Linked DNA regions of Homo sapiens: regions 1, 2, 3, 5, 6 and 7 are each linked to region 4. Evidence: promoter capture Hi-C in human tissues and cell types (Jung and others, 2019). All regions are on one chromosome and are shown on one strand. The core of a region is centred on a gene start or on the middle of the fragment in contact, and the rest is flanking DNA. Distances in the headings are between cores, read along the strand shown.

Region 1 (2,700 bases), core at 109-2,608, 660 kb before region 4:
TAGTTGAGTGTAAACTATATTTTTGGTGTTGATGTTCACTCAGTTCATAAAGAGTATTTATTGCATGCCTATGTGCTAAACCTAGGGCTATAAAAATAAACAAGTCCAAGGTCTTTTTTTTCCCAAGGGGACAAATCTAGTTGGCTCTGAGGGTTTAGATTCTTTATTCTTCTAGGAGTTCCTGAGGTAAGTGGCTCAGCAGGTCAGAGTTAATTCAATAGAACAGGCTGATACCAGCCACTGCTAATTCTTCCTGACAAAACCATTTTTAAACAGAGAGCATCCATTGGTACTAGTTACACAAGTGCTCCATGCTCCCAAGCCATATACATATGCGGAGCATCAGAGACATGAAGGCGCTGTATACCAGCTTGTTGGCCATAGGTATGAAGACTATGATGTTGGGTACTGAGAGTTCAAGGGTGTGTGTGCCTCCTACTTCTCTGATCCTAAGCTTGTCCCCAGTAAACTCCATGCTCTATCTGTACCACATGCTAGTGGTGTTGACAGTAACCCCTTTGCACAGCTCAGGAGGGGCACAGACAAGTAAAGAGCCAACCAACGTAGTCTTAAAGCATATAAAACAGCATTATTTCGCACTGCTGAGAAAGAGCACTAATACCATCAGCATTCTATGGGGCAGTTTCACGAAGATTCTGCCGATTAAGGAGGGCCCTAAATACTGAGTAAAATTTGGATAGAGGCAGGGAGGAGGCATTTGGAGTGAAGGCAAGTGGTTGAGAAGAGTGTAGGGTGCTTGGCTGGTGAGAAGCTTTTAGGGCTTGGATGTGTGTGCTCTCAGCAAATCACATCTGCCCTTTGCTAAGGACGCAGGGAGTAACTGTGCATTGGTTTATGCCACAGCCTTCCTAGAAATATCAACACCAATAGAATAGTTATGAACACGAAATCCTACAACATAGAGCTGAAATGCATCTGAGATCTATTAGAATGGTTTTTTTCTCTTCAAGCTGATTTTCCACCTTTCTTTCAAGGCATTGCTTTCTCTGAAGGGGGCAGCCTTGAACTTCTACACATAGCACACACTCTGTTAAACATTCATATATTTTTAAAGTTTGGATTTTACTACATTTTTCTTATAATTATGGTTTGGTATTTGATGGTAATAGGTAGGTTCTCTACCTTGTTCTCTTCCAGCAAGTAGGTTCACATTTTTGTATTCTGGAAGCTCTGGGGTTTGCATCTATTGCTAAAATAGAGTCAAAGTTGTCGGCATCAAAGGAGCAAAGCTCAATCCCCTTTAAAATTTCTAAGAAAACACCTGTGTCTAAATGCCAAGTAAACAATTTAATAATAATGTGACATTCTATATTTTCTAATAAAGTTTTTTTATGTCACTTTAGCAGAATAAATATCAAGAAAAAAATAGAAAGGTCACCTAACTGATTCTTTCTCAAACCACACAGTACCATTGACTAAAGTAAGAGTTTTAATTCATCTAAATTTCTCTGGACTGTTGAACAAAGGTTTTATAGATTTGAGGTTATGTGAAGATTATAAACTTAATAATACAACTCGACTTCACATACCCTAGCTTCTGCCTATAGACCATGACTTGGTAAAAAGGGCAGATGCACATGTTGTATTAAATATGAAGTTAATATCCATCCTCTCATTCCAACTACCTTCTTTTCTTAACATGAAATTTACTTTGACCTTCTCAAATAATAATTCTCTGTAGCTAGAAGAGGGCAGGGAAGGATAAATAATGAATGTTACAAAGTGATGGGCAGGCAGGGTAGGGGGGTGGGGGAATGACCTAGAATGTTAAATCTAGCTAAATTTATATTATGAAGGCAAAATAAAGACATAATTTAGTTCAAACAAAATCAGATGCAATCTTTTTTAGCCAACTTTCTCTACAAGATATAATAGAGAAATTTCTTCAGGTTGAAGGAAAATTATAGTACGTTAAAATTTGTATATACATAAAGGAATGTGCAGACTTGGAAATGATAAATATCTATGTAAATAAGACAAGTATTTTAGGTTTCTATTTAAAATATAATTAACAGTTTAAAGAAGAATTTCTCAAACACTTTTGTCTCATCATACCTTTGTAGTTGTGATAATTATTGAGGATCCTGGATAATTTGTTGATGTGGATTACATCTACTAATATTTTCTGTATTAGAAATTAAAACTGACATATTTATTAATAATATCTATTAATGAAAATATTTATTTATTTGTTTAAAACTAGTAATAATAACCCCATTTTATATTAACAAAAAATAATATCTTTTTAAGAAAAGTAACTATATTTTTCAAGGAAGAAAAACAATTAGTGAGGAGAATGGCATTTAAAAAATATTTTGCCAATCGCTTCAATTCCAGACTTAATAAAGAGCAGCTAAAGCATAATATGTGCTTTTGCATTTGGTCTGTTGCAATATCGTATATCATGTAGCCTTTGAGAGAATGAGAATGAAAGTGTAAGCAGTGTCTTACAATTATGAAAATAGTTTCCACCTCATGGATACCCTGAAAAGATCCTATGAACCACAGGAGACCCCAGACTGCACTTTTAGAACTATTTGTGTAAAGCAAAAATAATAGGACTGTACTTTGAAGTTTATGACATATATAGAAATAAAATATATGAAAACATTAGCATATAGGTTGGAAGGGAAAAATGAAAGTAAATTTTGTATGATTCTCATCCTTTACCTGTGGATT
Region 2 (2,700 bases), core at 181-2,680, 600 kb after region 4:
GTATATACATCAGGAGGAAAGGGGGGGAGGGAAATGAGTTAATAAAACAAATAAGAATTGATCATATGTTTCACATTTAAAAATAGTTATAATTGACCCGGCGTCTCATATTTTGGATAGAAGAGAAGAAATTCAGCTCCACACCTTGTCAGAAAAATATAGCATTGAGATTCAGAAAATACACACACAGCCGGGGCATTTCCCTTTCCAATAACGTGTTACTAGTTAGAGTCGACATAACCAATAGAAACATTAATATAGGTTTAAACAAGTGTATCTCCTAGGCAGATCCTTAAATTCCTTTAATTTTACATTAGGATATAAAATCGCTCATTCTAATGGGTTAGTAAATGCATATAGTCCTTCAGAAGCCTCATTGATGAAAACACAGCACAGGCAGAGGGAAATAGACTGTTATTTCTGCTCTGGCTGTATTTCCATTTCCTAATAACAGTAATGAACTTGAAGCATCGTATTTGCACACAAATAGGTCTAGATTCCAGTTTGGCTGCAGCTATACAGTTAAGCGTGTCACTGATGTGCACTTCCCAGCCTCAAAACACAATTTAAAGATCACTTTATGGAGAGTCGAATTACAGCAATGTGCTTAAGCATTAGGGCTGTGGTATTTCTAAAAACTGTTGGCAACAGGGCCAAGTTCTATGGCTCATAAAAGTCGATCACAAAGTTCTGAGCTACTGCAGCTCATTGATTGTGGTTATCCTTTAAGTTTCTTAATGTTCCCACCCATGGTATACTGGCACCCATTCCATTTCTCAAGCTTTGACACTGTTCTTTCCTTCCTTCCCCTTCTCCTTGCTCACACGTTTACAAACGACTGCTCTGGGCCATGCCCAGGTAGAGTCGTGCACAGGTCCTACCCTCCAGCAGCTCAGAATGTGCTTAGGCCGACGCGAAAACAAGTAAGTACAATGTGAATATTGATGCGTACCAGTCACCATGAAAACACAGAACGGGGAACACCTGCTGCCGCCCACCTGAACTGAGCCTTCGTGAACATGAGTTCAACAAGCAAACCATGGGATGGGGGGCAAGAAATGGCATTTCCAGCAGATATAAACGAACACAGGTACATTTTAAAACAAAGCAAATGCACCAATGCACAATGTCCTCAGGAAACAGGGGCGTGATAAGCGGGTGGTGTGGCCAGATGGTAAAACAGGGGCGGGGCTGGAAAGTTAAGGCCGGACGCTGAGTGTCCTTTACTACTAAGCTTAAGAGTTCATACTACAGGCACCTGGGGGCCACCAAGAGGTTTTACTGGTCTGGCTGGTTGTTATTGCTGCTGTTGTTGTTGCTTCGAGTAAGCGGAAGAGATGATAGCAGTGTGGAGGACGACTGTGACGGGGTAGAAAGGTGGGTAGTGGAGGCCGGGAGAGCAGCCGAAAGTCTCTCCCTGCACTTAGGCACAAAACCCCGGTTCTGAATGAAGCAACTGCAGGAGAAGAGGTAAGCAGCTGGCTTCAAGTGGTCTGTAAGCAGGGGCTATACCCCGGGCTTGGTGTCCAGATGGATATAAACAGCAAGAAGAAGGTGAAATAACGGCACAAAATTTCCACCCCAAGGAAACAGACAGAAGCTGATGCCAGTCTTTAAAAACTCAGGAATATAAAAGGAAAAACTGTTTAGGAGATCAGAATTAATTTGACTTTGGACGTTACGTTTGCATATCCATAGGGAGAAGCCCACAGGCCACACCGAGGCAGAAGAGACTGTGGGTGTAGAATTTGTGAGGGTCCCAGGGAAAGAGGAGAGGAGGGCTCAACAATCGGGTAGTGGTCGTGTCCAAGGAAGCCGCAGCTGAGACCCTGGAAGGGGAAGCCTGAGTTCAAGTCAGCATGGAGTGCCAACAGGCTAAGCCAAAAAACATCTCGTGCTGTTGGCAAAGGGCTGGCCCAGAAGAAAGCGTCGCAGGTTATGTATGGGCCTCAGCGGAACTGGGCCTTCCCAGAAAAGGGAGAAGAACGAGGTCACAGGTGAAGAGAGGAGGTGCTGGCACCTGTCAGAGTGGAGGCGGAGGACCTGAGATTTGCCTTATCAGATGGGGTGGGATGGGATGAGCTCAACTGAAGATGCACCAACAAGATAGGCACCAAGGCCAGGCACAGTGGCTCACACCTTAATCCCAACACTTTGGGAGGCCAAGGTGGGAGGATCACTTGAGCCCAGGAGTTTGAGGCCAGCCTGGACAACATGGCAAAACCTTGTCTCTACTAAACATTTTTTTTTTAATGGTCGGGGGTGGTGGTGTGCCCTTCTAGTTCTAGCTACTCTAGAGGCTGAGATGGGAGGATCACTTGAGCCCAGGAGGTTGAGGCTGGAGTGGGCTGTGATTGTACCCTCAATTCCAGCCTGGGAAACAGAGTAAGACCCTGTCTCAAAAAAAAAAAAACATAAAAATAATTAAAATAAAATATTTAAGAAGATGGGCACCTAAAGGGCAAATGGAAATGAGTCTGGAATTCAGGAGAAAAGTCAGAGGAACAGGGACAACTACACTGGTTCCCAGAGTAGTTTAAAGAAAAGGTGTTCTGGATGTATAATCAGGAAGAAAAGTTGCATTTTTCAGCAAAATATTGACATCAAGTATTTAATTCTTTCTTCATATATAATAAAGATACCAAGGAAATCTCTTTGTGAATCTATATGATTTCAGTTTTAATTTTAAATAATATTTAG
Region 3 (2,700 bases), core at 1-2,500, 700 kb after region 4:
GACCTAGACGGGTACATCACTTGAGGTCAGCCGTTCGAGACCAGCCTGGCCACTACGGCGTTAACACCGTCTCTACTAAAAATACAAAAATTAGCGAGCGTGGTGGTTCTGTGCCTGTAGTCCCAGCTGCCTGGGAGGCTGAGGCACGAGAATCACTGGAACCCGGGAGGCGGAGGCTGCAGTGAGCCGAGACCGCGCCACTGCACTCCAGCCCGGGCTACAGTCTTGTCTCAAAAAAAAAAAAAAAAAAAAAGAGTGTGGGACCCATTGCATCAGGCTGTGTAACTGTTTCTTACTAGCTGTATACCAGTGGCAAGTTACTGAACCATTTGTGCAAAATGTTAATTTATTTACCAACACTGTGTTCAGCTTGCCAGGCACCGTTCTCCTTGAATCTCACAGCAGCCCTGTGAGTAGGCACTACTGTTACCACCGTCACTTTGCAGACAGGGAACCCGAGGGACAAAGAAGTTAAGGGATTTCCTCAAAGCCACAGCTAGGAAGAGCGGCAGAACTGCGATTCCAATCCATCAGTGTGCCTCCACTATCCCTATTCCTTAAGATCGTGCCAAAGGCTGAGTCACTTGCACTAAGTAGCCTAGAACAGTCTCTGGGGAAACGCGCCCGCCGACAAGGATCGCCAGAACCGGCGCGGGCACCGCGCGGCGACCAGGAGCTCTGGTCACCGAAGGCCAGGCTGGAGGCCAGAGCAGCCGCCCGCACCCGGTCACCGCCTCGACAGTGGAGACCTCAGCTGACCGCGAGCCCCCGGCCCGCCCGCACCCCTTCTCATGCCCCCAGGAACCCGCCAAGCCGCTCCAGCCTCACCTCCTCCTCCCTCCATCGCGAGATTTCCAACAGCGTTTTTAAAAAAAAAAAAAAAAAAAAAAAAAAAAAAAAAAAAACCGGAAATGGGTCCTACCATCTTCTCGGAGCCGGAGTGCGAAGAAATAAAGAAATAGTGCTTTAAGTCAATGAATTCCTCCTTGGGACCCACTATCGAGAAACTATCAGTGGTAACGTTTTAAAAAATGACAAATTCAATCTGCTCTTGACTTGTGTGTCCTAAGATTTCCACTAAGTGTCTTCAAACCTCCCCCTCCCCGGCTTCCTGGATAATAGAAGTTCCCGAAGGCCGCCGATTCCAGAAGATACTGTCTGGCGTGAAATTAGTCTCAGTAGAAACATAAGTCCCGCGCGTCTTGTGCTGCGCGTGCGCAAGCTTTTGGGCCCTCCCGAGAAAGGGAAGTGCATTCTCGCTTCCGTAGCGGTCTCCGCCGGTTGGGGGGAAGTAATTCCGGTTGTTGCACCATGGCGTCCATGGGGACCCTCGCCTTCGATGAATATGGGCGCCCTTTCCTCATCATCAAGGATCAGGACCGCAAGTCCCGTCTTATGGGACTTGAGGCCCTCAAGGTAATGGCACAGGGACCTGCTCGCGGTGGGCTAAGGGGAGGTGGCCGAGGCCGTGGCTCTGCGCCTGCGCGAGTTGAGGAGCGGCTCTGCCATGTGCTCCCCGGAAAGGTCGAGAATCTCCGTCTCCCTGCGGTCTCCGGCCGCTCAGCCCGCTTACTGAGCTCGGGAGACGCCGGCGCCTAATCCTGGGCTCGGAATGTGGGGGCCAGCCAGGCTGGGCCGCCAGCGCCCTTCGGAGCTGGGTGGGGCCGCTCAGTCCGGTCGCCCGCGGGAGCAAAGCGGGACCGCCTCCCCGCCCGGCTCCTCCAGCCTGACGGCCGCGTGGGACTGCGCTCCAGTGGGAGGGCGCCGGGGAGATGCTCTGTCACCTGTCGGTTAAGGCGCTGCTGCTTAACCTTTCGCTGGTCCACCCGCAACGGCCCTTCCGTTTTCTTTGTCACTCGTAAAGGTGTGGTCACTTAACAGGGTATTTCATTTCTGAGTGCTTTTTTGCCCACCCTTGAGGAAAAATAGCGAAGAGTGAAAAACGGACGCACATAACCGTAATACAAGGTGGTGTGCAGTGAGAAGGACAGCTACGGAGAGGGTGCACATAAGCGTGGTGCTGGAGGACAGCTTTAGATCGGGGTGAGAGGTAGCATTCTAGGGAGAGGAAACGGTAGAAGTAAAGGCTTGGGCAAGAATGCGCATGGCACGTTGTAGAATGGAAGAGCCATCCGGTTTTAATGGAGCACTGACTTCTTTAACTTACAATAGTTCCCGAAGGTGGAAGCTATTGAATGCCCAACATGGAAAATACGACGTTATCTTTGGGGAAGAAGGGGAGCCATTGAGGGGGTTTTGAGCAGAATTTCAGTAGAGCTGCACTTCAGGCAGCAAAGCTTGAGATAGACCGAAGGGAATAAGGAAGACCAGAGGGGTTAAAGAAACCAGGGCAGGGGTGCAGGTAAGAAACATCTGAGCACCAGACGTTGACAGAAAATGCAGAGGAAGGGACACTCCGAGAGGGCCTTCAGGGTTTGTTATAAAGTGAATTCATAATAGACCATTCCACTAGGTCTCTCAGGTGTCCCTGTTCACTTAGTGTCTTGGAGGTTTACTTACGCAAAGTTAGAAACAATACAGTTCCCCTATGGACTCTTTGTTTGACTTAGTGCTAGTTACACAACCTCGCGGAACCTCCTTTTCCAGGGGGAGGTGATAGGCCTCCGTCAAGCTGAAGACTTGACAGTGATATTAAATGGAGTGACTTAGAGGGGCTGCACAGTGGTTGATCCACGGTAG
Region 4 (2,700 bases), core at 85-2,584:
GGAGGTGAACGCGCTTCCCGCCAAAGCCAGGGGAACAGGGATGTGACCGCTCCAAGCCAGGCACCGGCCGCCGCGGGGAGCGAGCCGGGGGAATCACTCCTCCACGACCGTTCCCACGCACATCTTGGGAGAAACCATTCCCTCTGGAGCCCGATCTGCCCGAAACCCTGGGGTCTGAAACCCTGAGCCGCGGTGTGCAAAATCCGTGGAGCAGCGGAGGGATGCCTGGTGAAAGGGGCTCGCCTAGCTGCAGCGCACCTGGCTGGTGGTTCCCCAGGCCTCTGCATCCCCCGCCTTAGTGTCTTTCATTAACCAAGGCGCTTGGCGGAGTTGAGCCCAAGTCCCATTGCCTCCCGGTTCCCCTGTAAGGAAAGCAGGAAAACCTGCCCAAGCCGGTGGGGCTGCGAGGTGGCCGCTCCCGAACCGCCAAGTCCCGACCTCCGTGTCCCCTGCCCCCGGCTCGCGGCAGTGCGAGCCTGGAGGCGCGCCGGGGGCGGGCACAGACCAGTGTGCGCACCTTTCCGGGTGTTGGGCAGGGGTCCCGTCTCGCCCACCGCGACACTCCGGCTCCTTACCTCTCCATGCTCAGACCTCGGCACAGGCGGGTACACAAACTTCCAGCCCGTGCACTAGCTCAACTGTGGGCGCCCCCGGACTGACGGTCGTCCTAATCCTGTACGCGCAACCCCCGCCCAGGTGCCTGCTGATGGATCCCACCCGAGATCGGCACCACCCACCAGCCGACCGCTGCAGTCCCCGGGTCCCGGCCAGCGGCGCGGCGCGGCGCGGCGCGGTCAGGGGCTCCTGCCAAGGCCACGCAGGAATCGGGCGGGGGTCGCTCACCAGGTGCGAGGAGCGCTGGTGCCAGTCATCCAGCGCCTGGGGGCCAGAGCGGCTCCGAGGATCCTCTTCAGCACCTGGCTAGGGAAGTGGAGGCAGCAGCTGCAGCCGCCCCCTGCCACTTCCCCAGAGCCGCCCCCTACTCGCTGAGTTCCAGAATGGGGGCACCGGCTTGGGGGCCACGAGCACGGTCCCCGAGCGCGCGGCCAACCGGTGGGTGGGCAGGTTCGCGCCCAGCAGAGACGACCCTCGAGGTGGCAAAGTTGGGTGTCCAAGCCAGCTCCGCGGGGCAGTCCTGGGTGGGAGAAGGGAGCGTCCCGGGATGAGCGACACTGGCCGGGCCGCCCCTGCACGGGGAAGGTGGAGGGCCGGGGCTGCAGCGGGCCAAGGGCCGCGGCTGGCCTGAGGCTGCGAAGCCCACCCGCGGCGGGAAAGCAGCGCTCGGGAGCGGGCTCAGGGAGAGCAGCCGCCACCGGCGCCGCCTTCCCGGCAAGTAGATCGGCGCGGGGCGAGCGGGCGCGGAGAGCGCGGGGCGGAGAGCGCTGGGCGGGGAGCGGGGGACAGCCTGGGCCCACCCCCGCCCCGCCCCGCCCCTGCCCCGCCCCCGCCGCCGCGCCGCCTCCTCCTCCTCCTCCTCCCCGCCGGGGTGAAACTCGAGCGCCCCACCCGCGCCTGACCTCCCCGAGCCCCTCCCCGGGCCCCGCCCCTTCCCGGTACAGGACCCCCACCTTCGCTCCTGGGAGCCCCGCTGCACCCCAGGAGTTCCATTCCAGCCTCCCCAGTGCGAGTGCGGCCGAGCGCTGACTTTTGGGGGCTCCCTCCCCCGTCTCACTGGGTCCCTCTGCGGCTCCCCCGCCCGCTGTCCCGGTTCAGACGTGGCTGCACCCCGGAGGGGGGCGCCGGCCGAGACCTGAGACGTGGCGCTCCCTCTCTGCCGGCCTCGGCTTCAGGTACGTGCGGTTCCCTCGGCTAAATCTGGCCCGGGGGATGGGGGGCAGGGGCCGTCTGGTCCTCCGGAACTCGAACTTTGTGATTTTGTTCTTTCTGTGTGACATCCTCATCCGTTCTGAGGGAGAAACTCCTTAAAGAAGACGAGAGAGTCAGTCGTTGCGGGTTCTTGGAGGAGCACTTTGGGGGTGAGACTCCCGGCTAGTTCGGGTCGATTTCAGCGGGATTAAGTCAAGGAAATGAACAAATCTGACGAATCAGGGAGGCCAGAGAAGGCGTCCCCAGGTAGCCACGCTGAGCGTTAAGAGAGAAGTCCCGTATGGTCAAAGTCATTCGTCCAATTCTGTGTCAATTATTCCTTGTTGCACTTTTGCAGGATCCTTGGGCCTTACTAAGTACTCAGGTGAAAAGTTGATAATTGGGAAGCAAGTAAAGTACCTTTGAAGACGTGTATAATTGGACACTTTGTTGCAGTTCTTCAGTTTCTGGAGGAGGCGGTGGGGGGGGAGAGGGAGGGGGTCAGCCTCGCGAAAAGAGCAAATGGTAAAGTTATAGGAGTATAAGGCATAAAACTTGGGTTGGGAGTCCTGACTGGCCTTGAGTGGCCCTTTCCCACTGGATGGGGGTGCGGGACAGTATCTCTGGGCCCTTTTTACTCAGTCTGCGCCTCAGAGGGAGGCTTGAAGGTCCCCTGCATGAGGAAATGTGTGAATTGCCCCCTCCTGACCGCAGTGAGGTAGGGACCCCCGCAAGGACCCACGTTCACACCAGCGCCCTTCCAGCCAGTGGTGGGGTATGGATGGGCCTCGCTGGTCCTGGGCATGGTCCGGTGCGTCCATAAGGGTTCCATTGAGCTCATCCATAAAACAAAGAAGCTATTGCAGGCTGCAGGGTGTCATAGCTCGCACAGTA
Region 5 (2,700 bases), core at 64-2,563, 780 kb before region 4:
AAATTACCCAGTCTTAGGTAAGTCATTATCAGGAGCATGTGAACAGATTAATACACCCTCCCATCACAGGCAAAGAGGCATAGGAGGTAAAAATTGTTTCATGGGCTGGGCCCAGGGCCTTGCTGCTTTGTGCAGTCTCAGCACTTGGTGCCCTGCATCCAAGCTGTGGCTAAAAGGGGAAAATGTACAGCTCAGGTCATTGCTTCAAAAAGTACAAGCCCCAAGCCTTGGTGGCTTACACATGGTGTTGGGCCTGTGGGTACACAGAAGTAAAGATTTGAGGTTGGAACCTCCACCTAGATTTCAGAGGATGTATGGAAATGCCTGGATGTTTGCTACAGGGGTGGGACCCTCATGGAGAACTTCTGCCAGGGCAGTGTGGAAGGGAGATGTGGGGTCAGAACCTCCACACAGGGCCCTCACTAGGGCACTGCCTAGTGGAGCTGTGAGAAGAGAGCCATCATGCTCCAGATCCCAGAATCATAGATCCACTGACAGCTTGCACTGTGCACCTGGAAAAGCTGAAGACACTTCAATGCCAGCCTGCAAATGCAGCCTGGAGTGTAGGTGTAATCTGCAAAGCCATAAGGGTGGGGCTATTCAAGGTCTTGGGAGCCCACCTCTTGCATCAATGTGAGCTGGATGTGAGACACGAAGTCAAATGAGATTATTTTGGAACTTTAAGGATTAATGACTGCCCTTTTGGATTTTGGACTTGCATGGGGCCTGTAGTCCCTTTGTTTTGACCAATTTCTCCCATTTTGAATGGGTAAATATACCCATTCAATGCCTGTATCCTCATTGTATCTAGGACATAATTAATTTGCTTTTGATTTAACAGGCTCATAGGGGAAAAGGACTTGCCTTGTCTCAGATGAGACTTTGGGCTTGGACTTTTGAGTTAATGCTGGAATGAGTTACGCCTCTGGGGTACTGTTACGAAGGCATGATTGGTGTTGGAAAGGCATAATTGTGTTTTGAAATGTGAGGACATGAGATTTGGAAGGGCCCAGGGGTGGTTTACCTCATGCTGTTCTCATGATAATGAGTGAGTCTCACAAGATCTGAGGGATTTATAAATGTATGGCATTTCCCCTGCTCGCACTCATTCTCTCTCCTAACACCCTGTGAAGAGGTGCTTTCACCATGATTGTAAGTTTCCTGAGGCCCCCCAGCCTTGCAGAACTGTGAGTCAGTTAAATCTCTTTGCTTTATGAATTACCCAGTCTCAGGTATTTCTTCATAGTGGCATGAGAGTGGACTAATACAGTCATAGAGTCAGATAGACCTTGGTTTGGGCCTGGCTCCACCACTTTCATGTGTGTGACCTGAGTCAAGCTTCTTCATTCCTATAGTCTCAGCTTCACCATCTGTGCAAAGAATGAAAATATCTCTTCTCTCTTAGCACAGCTTAGATAAATGAGGACATACATCTAATGCATCATGTCTGGCACATGCAAAGGTTAAATTAATGTAAAATGTCATTAGCAATTGATTAAAATATATTAAATTACAAAAACTAAAATAAATATATGCTCTTCACCTTTGTTGTTGTTTTGCTTTGTTTTGTTTTGTTTTATTGAGATAGGGTCTCACTCAGTCACCCCGGCTGGAGCGCAGTGGCGCAATCTCAGCTCACTGCAACCTCTGCCTCCCAGGTTCAAGCAATTCGGGTGTCTCAGCCTCCCAAGTAGCTTCTATTACAAGCATGCACCACCATGCCTGGCTAATTTTTATATTTTTAGTAGAGAAGGGGTTTTACCATGTTGGCCAGGCTGGTCTAGAACTCCCAGCCCCAGGTAATATACCCGCCTCGTCCTCCCAATGTGCTTACAAGCATGAGCCTCCATGCCTGTGCCTGCTCTTCATCTTATATAAAATTCAGGTTAATTAGAAAAATATCTATTCTTTGGTCTTATTACCTTAAATTAAGAAACCTCTGCTTTTTTTTTTAACTTTAAATTCTGGGATATATGTGCAGAATGTGCAGGTTTGTTACATAGGTATACGTGTGCCATGGTGGTTTGCTCAACCCATCATCTAGGTTTTAAGTCCCGCAGGCATTAGGTATTTCTCCTAATGCTCTCCCTTCCCTTGTGGCCCACCCCCTGACAGGCCCCGGTGTGTGATCTTCCCCTCCCTGTGTCCATGTGTTCTCATTGTTCAACTCCCACTTATGAGTAATAACACGTGGTGTTTGATTTTCTGTTCCTGTGTTAGTTTGCTGAGAATGATGGTTTCTAGCTTCATCCGTGTCCCTGCAAAGGACATGAACTCATTCTTTTTTATGGCTGCACAGTATTCCATGGTATATATGTGCCACATTTTCTTAATCCAGTCTATCACTGATGGTCATTTGGGTTGGTTCCAAGTCTTTGCTATTGTAAACAGTGCTGCAATAAACATACATGTGCATGTGTCTTTATGGTAGATTGATTTATAAGTCTTTGAGTATATACCCAGTAATGGGATTGCTGGGTCAAATGGTATTTCTGGTTCTAGATCCTTGAGGAATCACCACACTGTCTTCCACAATGGTTGAACTAATTTACACTCCCACCAACACTAGTTTTAAGGGAAAGTCCTATAGCAAAGTTTGCTTTTTGTATTTTTTGTTTGTTTTTCTTTGAGGTTTATTTATGACAGTTCAATTGTGCAGTCTCAGACTTCCAAAGGGCCTAGATACCTGAGGAGTTACGA
Region 6 (2,700 bases), core at 30-2,529, 710 kb before region 4:
AAAGGGTATTTGCTGAAAGGATGGGGGTTGTGTGGGTGAAAAAAGTATTCTCATTAGTTACAATTCAAAATGGTTTTGTTAATTCTCAAACACACATTCTCCCATTTGGTCAATTATGAAGTGCTGTTCTGTTTATTGCTGTATACCATCTGAAAACTAAAAGGATTAAAACAACAATTTGTGATTGCCTTTCACAGTTCTGGAAGTTTATAGTTCAGTTGGACATTTCCCTCTTGGGTTCCTCCATCAGTTACAGGTAGACTGGGGCCGAGGCTGGAAACATCTCAAGGCCTCTTCACCCATGTACCTGACATCCAGACTGAGAGGTCTGGAAAAGCTGGGGTAGATCAGGAAGGCACCTTCTCCATGTGGCCAATTTGGGATTCCTCAAACCATGGTGCTCTCCAGGTAGTTAGGCTTCTTATTTGGCACCTGGATTTTTACAGAGGGGGTGATCTAAAAAAATCACAGCAAATGTTTCACAGGGTCACAGAAGCTTCCTATAACTTAGTCACAGAAGTCACACAGCATCACCACCACCACATTCTCTTGGTTACAGAGGGCTGGCCCAACTTAGCGTGGAGAGGACTACCAGGAGGCATGGTTCATTGGTGCCACCTGGGAGCGTAGCTACTGAGAGGTTATATTCACGTACTAGAGGGCAGTGGAGACAAGAAAATGTGTCACTAAAGGCTGTCTGGGGACTAAAGAAAGTCCTCATTATTTTGAAGAGGGATGTTTGTTACACAAGGGATCCCTGCTATGGTATGTCATCGAGTGGACACCACACAGGAAGCTAGTTTAACTAAAGAGGGAATTCATTTTTTACATTTAACTACTAACATTTTGGGAGAAAGCAAGAAACAAGATGAGCACTGAGCGTTGTTATTATTATTTGAGATGGAGTTTCATTCTTGTTGCCCAGGCTAGTGTGCAGTGGTGCGATCCCAACTCACTGCAACCTCTGCCTCCCAGGTTTAAGCAATTCTCCTGTCTCATCATCCTGAGTAGCTGGGATTACAGGTGCCTGTCACTACGCCCAGCTAATTTGTTCTATTTTTAGTAGAGATGGGGTTTTACCACGTTGGCCAGGCTGGTCTTGAACTCCTGACCTCAGGTGATCCACCCACCTCGGCCTCCCAAAGTGTGAAGATTACAGGTGTGAGCCACTTTGCCCAGCCTGCATTGTTATTTTTTGTTCACAGAGAGAGTAAATAACTAAAATGCTTCTTCAAGTCGCAGGTTACATTTAATAGCAGAAAAAGAATTTCAGGAACTGTTACTTATTGCCAGGAAATAAGGGGCCAGGTCAATGCTCAGAGCCTACCATACCCTTGAAGATTCCTAGCAATTAAGTGAACTATTAATTTCTGGATTCGGAAACCAGAAACAAAACTTTGCCTTCTTTACAGATAAGGGGGACACTGTATCATCTGCTGTCCGGTGTCAAATGTCACAATGAATGGTCTGTTCTCCCCTGTGAATTTGTTCTGTGGTCATAACTGTATACAGGAATCACTTTGGAATCCTCAAAACCCCCGAGCCTTGTGTTAAACCCCACGAGTATTTAGAGTTTTACAACTACGAAGCTGAATGTCGAGAGAAAAAGACAAAGATTCCAAAAAAATGGTCTCAAAGTACCTCCTTGTTTAAGTTGGCTGCCAGGCAAATCAGCTCATCTCCAGCAGAACAGAAGCCGCCTTTTCAGGGAAGCGTGGCAGCTGCCGGCGAACACAAAGCAGCTCTGTGATGGTTGAAGCCAGCAAAGAAAAGCGCCCCCTCCGAGTGGAATCACAGGAAGGAAACCTCCGTGGGCAGCAGGAGCAAGTGCAATCCCTGGAGACGAGTCGAAGGGGCCCGAGGCCCCGAGAAGGGCAGGATGCGATGCTGGGTGTGTGACCTCAGCCATGGAAGGGCCACCTGCCACCGGGGGGCTGGGCCGTCGGGCCTTTGGTTGTGGAGGGAAAAGAGTGGCCACTTGCTGGAGCTGGGAACGTGCAGTGATGAGCACTAGGACAAGAGGACCGTGACAAACAGACATAGAAGGTAAAACTGCCCGAGTACAGGCTGATCCACAGACCTGTGTCCAGGGAGAGGCCTCAGGATGGATTTGGAAATGCAGGACAGGTTCATGAAATCCTCACACACCTGCCACATACTCAAGGAGGGTGCTGTTTACTTGATTGATTGTGCTGGTCCTGAACATCTGACATGATTTGTGGTTATAAATGGGTGTTTGCCGTTAACTATAAGTATCTTGGAGTAATTTAACAAACAACAATAGGTATTGGGGCAGGTCAGCGCGTCTCCACCTGAAAGACAAAGGAAAGCCGTGAACGCAGGACCAGCAGTTGTGGCTCACGGTGAGAGGTGACAGCGTGGTAGCATCCCTTGCTGGCTCTGGGCGCGTCCTCGGCCTCGGCGTCCGCTCTGGCCGCGCTCAAGGAGCTCTTCAGCCCGCCGCTGCGCTATGAGGGCCTCTCTCTGGGGCTGGCGGAGGCCGGAGCCTGCTCCCTCTGCTGGCGGGGAGGTGTGAAGAGAAAGGCACTGGCTGGAGCCGGCGCTGCGCGCGGCGCTCGCGGCCCAGCGCTTGGGTTCCAGGTGAGCTCCGGCTCTGCAAGCCCCGCACTCGGCGTGGCCGGCCGGCGCCTGCTGGGCTTGATCGGAGACTGAATCCCTGCGTGGACCACCGTTCCCTCT
Region 7 (2,700 bases), core at 65-2,564, 680 kb before region 4:
AAAAAATCAACTCAAAATAGATTAAATACTTAAATGTAATACCTAAAACTGTAAAACTACTAGAAAAAAACACGGGAAAATATTTTTTACATTGGTCTGGGCAATGATATTTTGACTATGACAACAAAAGCACAGACAACAAAAGCAAAAACAGGCAAATGGGATTTCATCAAAGTCAATAGCTTCTGCATAGAGAATCAACAGCCCAAAGAGTCAACAGCCTGAAGAGACAATGTACTGAATAGGAAAATATATTTGCAAACCGTGAATCTTATAAATAGTTAATGTCTAAAATGTATAAGAAACTCATACAATCCAATAGCAAACAACAAAACACACACTAAAAAACTAACTAAAAATGCAAATTATTTAAATAAACATTTCTCAAGGAAGACACACAAATGGATAAGAGCTATATGAAAAATGTTCAACATTACTATCATCAGGAAAATGTAAAATTAAAAGTACAATGAGATTATCTCACACTAGTGAGAATGACTATTATAAAAAAGATGAAAGATACATGTTGGCACATTGTAGAGAAAAGGGAATCTTTTACATTATTGATGGGAATGTAAAGTGGTACAACCATTATAGAAAATAGTATAGAGGCCAGGCACGGTGGCTCACACCTGTAATCCCAACACTTTGGGAGGCCAAGGTGGATGGATCACTTGAGGCCAGGTATTTGAGATCAGCCTGGCTAACATAGCAAGACCCCATCTCTACCATATTTCTATGAAAAATACAAAAAAATTAGCTGGGCATGGTGCCATGGTAGTCTCAGCTACTCAGGAGGCTGAACCACAAGAATTGCTTGAACCCGGGGGGCAGAGGTTGCAGTGAGATGTGATCGCACCACTGCACTCTAGCCTAGGTGACAGAAGCTTGGCCAACATGACAAAACCCAGTCTCTACTAAAAATACGAAAATTAGCAGGGCATGGTGGTGCATGCCTGTAATCCCAGCTACTCAGGAGGTTGAGGCAGGATAATCACTTAAATCTGGGAGGCTGAGCCAAGATCATGCCACTGTACTCCAGCCTAGGCAACAGAGTGAGACTCCGTCTCAAAAAAAGCAAGAAAGAAGATAGTGTAGAGGTTCCTCAAAAAATTAAAATTAGAACTACTTTATGATCCAGAAATCTCACTTCTGAGCATATACACAAAGGAATTTAAATCAATATGTCAAAGCAATATCTGCACTTCCATGTGTATTACAGCAATATTCACAGTAGCCAAGATATATAAACAAACTACATGTCCATTGATGAATAAATGAATAAAAAAGTAATATATATTAATGTAATGAAATATTTATATTATTTTTGTGTAGTTTGTACATATACATACATACATACACACAAAAAATTGAATATTATTCAGCCACTAAAACGAAGGAAATCCTGCCATTTGCAACAACATACATGGGCCCAGAGAACATTATGCTAAGCAAAATCAGCCAGGTAGAGGAAGACAAATACTGCATGATCTCACTTATATGTGGAATCTAAAACTTTGAAGTCACAGAAACAGAGAGAAAAGCTGAGAGGAGGTGGCAATGGAGGGATATTTGTCAAAGGGTATAAAGTTTCAGTTATGCAGGTTGTAAACACTCTGGAAATCTAACGCCCAGCAATGAGAGTATAGTTAGCAATACTGTATTATAAATCTTCATAGCTTCCAAAACGTATGCCCTGACTATAAGACCTTTACCACCTATAACATATAAGAATGTTCACCTATTTTCTTCTAATAATTTGTTTTTATATTAAATTTTGGATATATCTAAATTATGAATCTGGCTACATCATATTTTAATGGCTGGCTATTTCCCCCATCAGTATATGTTTCAAAGTACATATCTTTATCACTTACTTAAATGGCTTAATTATTATAAATTCCCTATATAAATATAGGTGTGGTTAGGGGACAATATGCAGGCACAAATTTCTAAGATTTTAATTCCTGCTTTAAATAATATAAATTTGTATATATTTTAATGGAGGATTAGTTTCACTATTTCTCATTTGACAGAGTAAAATTCTCCAGCTGTTTTCACTGTCCTTCCTTAGTGGAATTGTACTTCCCCAATTTCCTGAATTTATACGTGGCCATATGACGTGCTTCAGTCATAAAATGTGAGTGAAAGTGGCACATGACTCTTCCAGGCGCTGCTGTCTGAGCCAGCAGATTCTTCATCGTGTTCTCTTTTTTCTCTGCCTTCCTGTTCACCTATGTTCCAGACAGTTGGAGTCTCACCGGTGTGGGTTTGGCATGCAAATGACACAAAGCAGATTATGGAATGGCCTGAATGTAGAGTAAAATATTTGCTGTTTTAATTACTGAGATGTGAGTGTCACTTGTTGCTAGAGCAAAAATTAGTTTATCTGACAGATACTATAGGTCAGATATGTATTTATTCACTAAAATTTTAGACTATCTCATCAGGTTTAAATATTTTTTACTAGATGGATTGGGCTATTAAGCATATAGAATAATTCAAAATAATAAATAAATTTAGATTATGAATCTTCCTCTGCAAGAGTCTTTCTATTCATGTAAATCTCTTAAGGGGCAATTTTGGGGCTGTTATAGCATAATTTATTTCAACATTTTCCTAATGAAGAATATATAATTATTTTTATCTTTAATCTGTTAATAGTACTGTAATAAAATTATTTTACATAAACATTTTACT

Evidence for each region. The method cuts DNA at HindIII sites, captures the fragments that hold promoters and counts their contacts. A contact is called where the count stands out against the background at its distance.
Region 1: a fragment that was not itself captured here is called in contact with the fragment with the promoter of SEMA5A in region 4 in 2 of the 25 tissues and cell types used here (lymphoblastoid cells and mesenchymal stem cells).
Region 2: a contact is called between a fragment that was not itself captured here and the fragment with the promoter of SEMA5A in region 4, in 1 of the 25 tissues and cell types used here (dorsolateral prefrontal cortex).
Region 3: the fragment with the promoter of CCT5 here is called in contact with the fragment with the promoter of SEMA5A in region 4 in 3 of the 25 tissues and cell types used here (bladder, heart right ventricle and hippocampus).
Region 5: a contact is called between a fragment that was not itself captured here and the fragment with the promoter of SEMA5A in region 4, in 2 of the 25 tissues and cell types used here (dorsolateral prefrontal cortex and lymphoblastoid cells).
Region 6: a fragment that was not itself captured here is called in contact with the fragment with the promoter of SEMA5A in region 4 in 1 of the 25 tissues and cell types used here (dorsolateral prefrontal cortex).
Region 7: a contact is called between a fragment that was not itself captured here and the fragment with the promoter of SEMA5A in region 4, in 1 of the 25 tissues and cell types used here (dorsolateral prefrontal cortex).

What each region holds. Positions count from the first base shown.
Region 1 is chr5:8,883,205-8,885,904 of GRCh38, forward strand. No RefSeq gene overlaps it. Among named protein-coding and RNA genes, the nearest start is that of LINC02199, 45 kb to the left of the region's middle. The HindIII fragment of the contact is 3,399 bases long and covers 1-2,700 here.
Region 2 is chr5:10,148,890-10,151,589 of GRCh38, forward strand. No RefSeq gene overlaps it. Among named protein-coding and RNA genes, the nearest start is that of ATPSCKMT, 100 kb to the right of the region's middle. The HindIII fragment of the contact is 3,891 bases long and covers 1-2,700 here.
Region 3 is chr5:10,249,030-10,251,729 of GRCh38, forward strand. It overlaps CCT5 (chaperonin containing TCP1 subunit 5), which reads left to right and starts at 1,251. Exons shown (of 11, transcript NM_012073.5): 1 at 1,251-1,416. The coding sequence starts at 1,312. It overlaps ATPSCKMT (ATP synthase c subunit lysine N-methyltransferase), which reads right to left and starts at 859. Exons shown (of 5, transcript NM_199133.4): 1 at 829-859. The coding sequence starts at 844. RefSeq lists silencers at 629-748, 759-818, 1,569-1,638, 1,709-1,848, 2,179-2,401. The HindIII fragment of the contact is 7,315 bases long and covers 1-1,759 here.
Region 4 is chr5:9,544,741-9,547,440 of GRCh38, forward strand. It overlaps SEMA5A (semaphorin 5A), which reads right to left and starts at 1,335. Exons shown (of 23, transcript NM_003966.3): 1 at 844-1,335. It overlaps SNHG18 (small nucleolar RNA host gene 18), which reads left to right and starts at 1,460. Exons shown (of 3, transcript NR_045196.2): 1 at 1,460-1,790. RefSeq lists a silencer at 1,269-1,458. The HindIII fragment of the contact is 8,719 bases long and covers 1-2,700 here.
Region 5 is chr5:8,761,563-8,764,262 of GRCh38, forward strand. All of the region lies in intron 2 of LOC101929307 (a long non-coding RNA gene), which reads right to left. Among named protein-coding and RNA genes, the nearest start is that of LINC02199, 77 kb to the right of the region's middle. The HindIII fragment of the contact is 5,311 bases long and covers 1-2,700 here.
Region 6 is chr5:8,837,913-8,840,612 of GRCh38, forward strand. It overlaps LINC02199 (long intergenic non-protein coding RNA 2199), which reads left to right and starts at 1,820. Exons shown (of 3, transcript NR_109932.1): 1 at 1,820-2,046. All of the region lies in intron 1 of LOC101929307 (a long non-coding RNA gene), which reads right to left. The HindIII fragment of the contact is 4,416 bases long and covers 1-2,700 here.
Region 7 is chr5:8,859,793-8,862,492 of GRCh38, forward strand. All of the region lies in intron 1 of LINC02199 (long intergenic non-protein coding RNA 2199), which reads left to right. Among named protein-coding and RNA genes, the nearest start is that of LINC02199, 21 kb to the left of the region's middle. The HindIII fragment of the contact is 4,266 bases long and covers 1-2,700 here.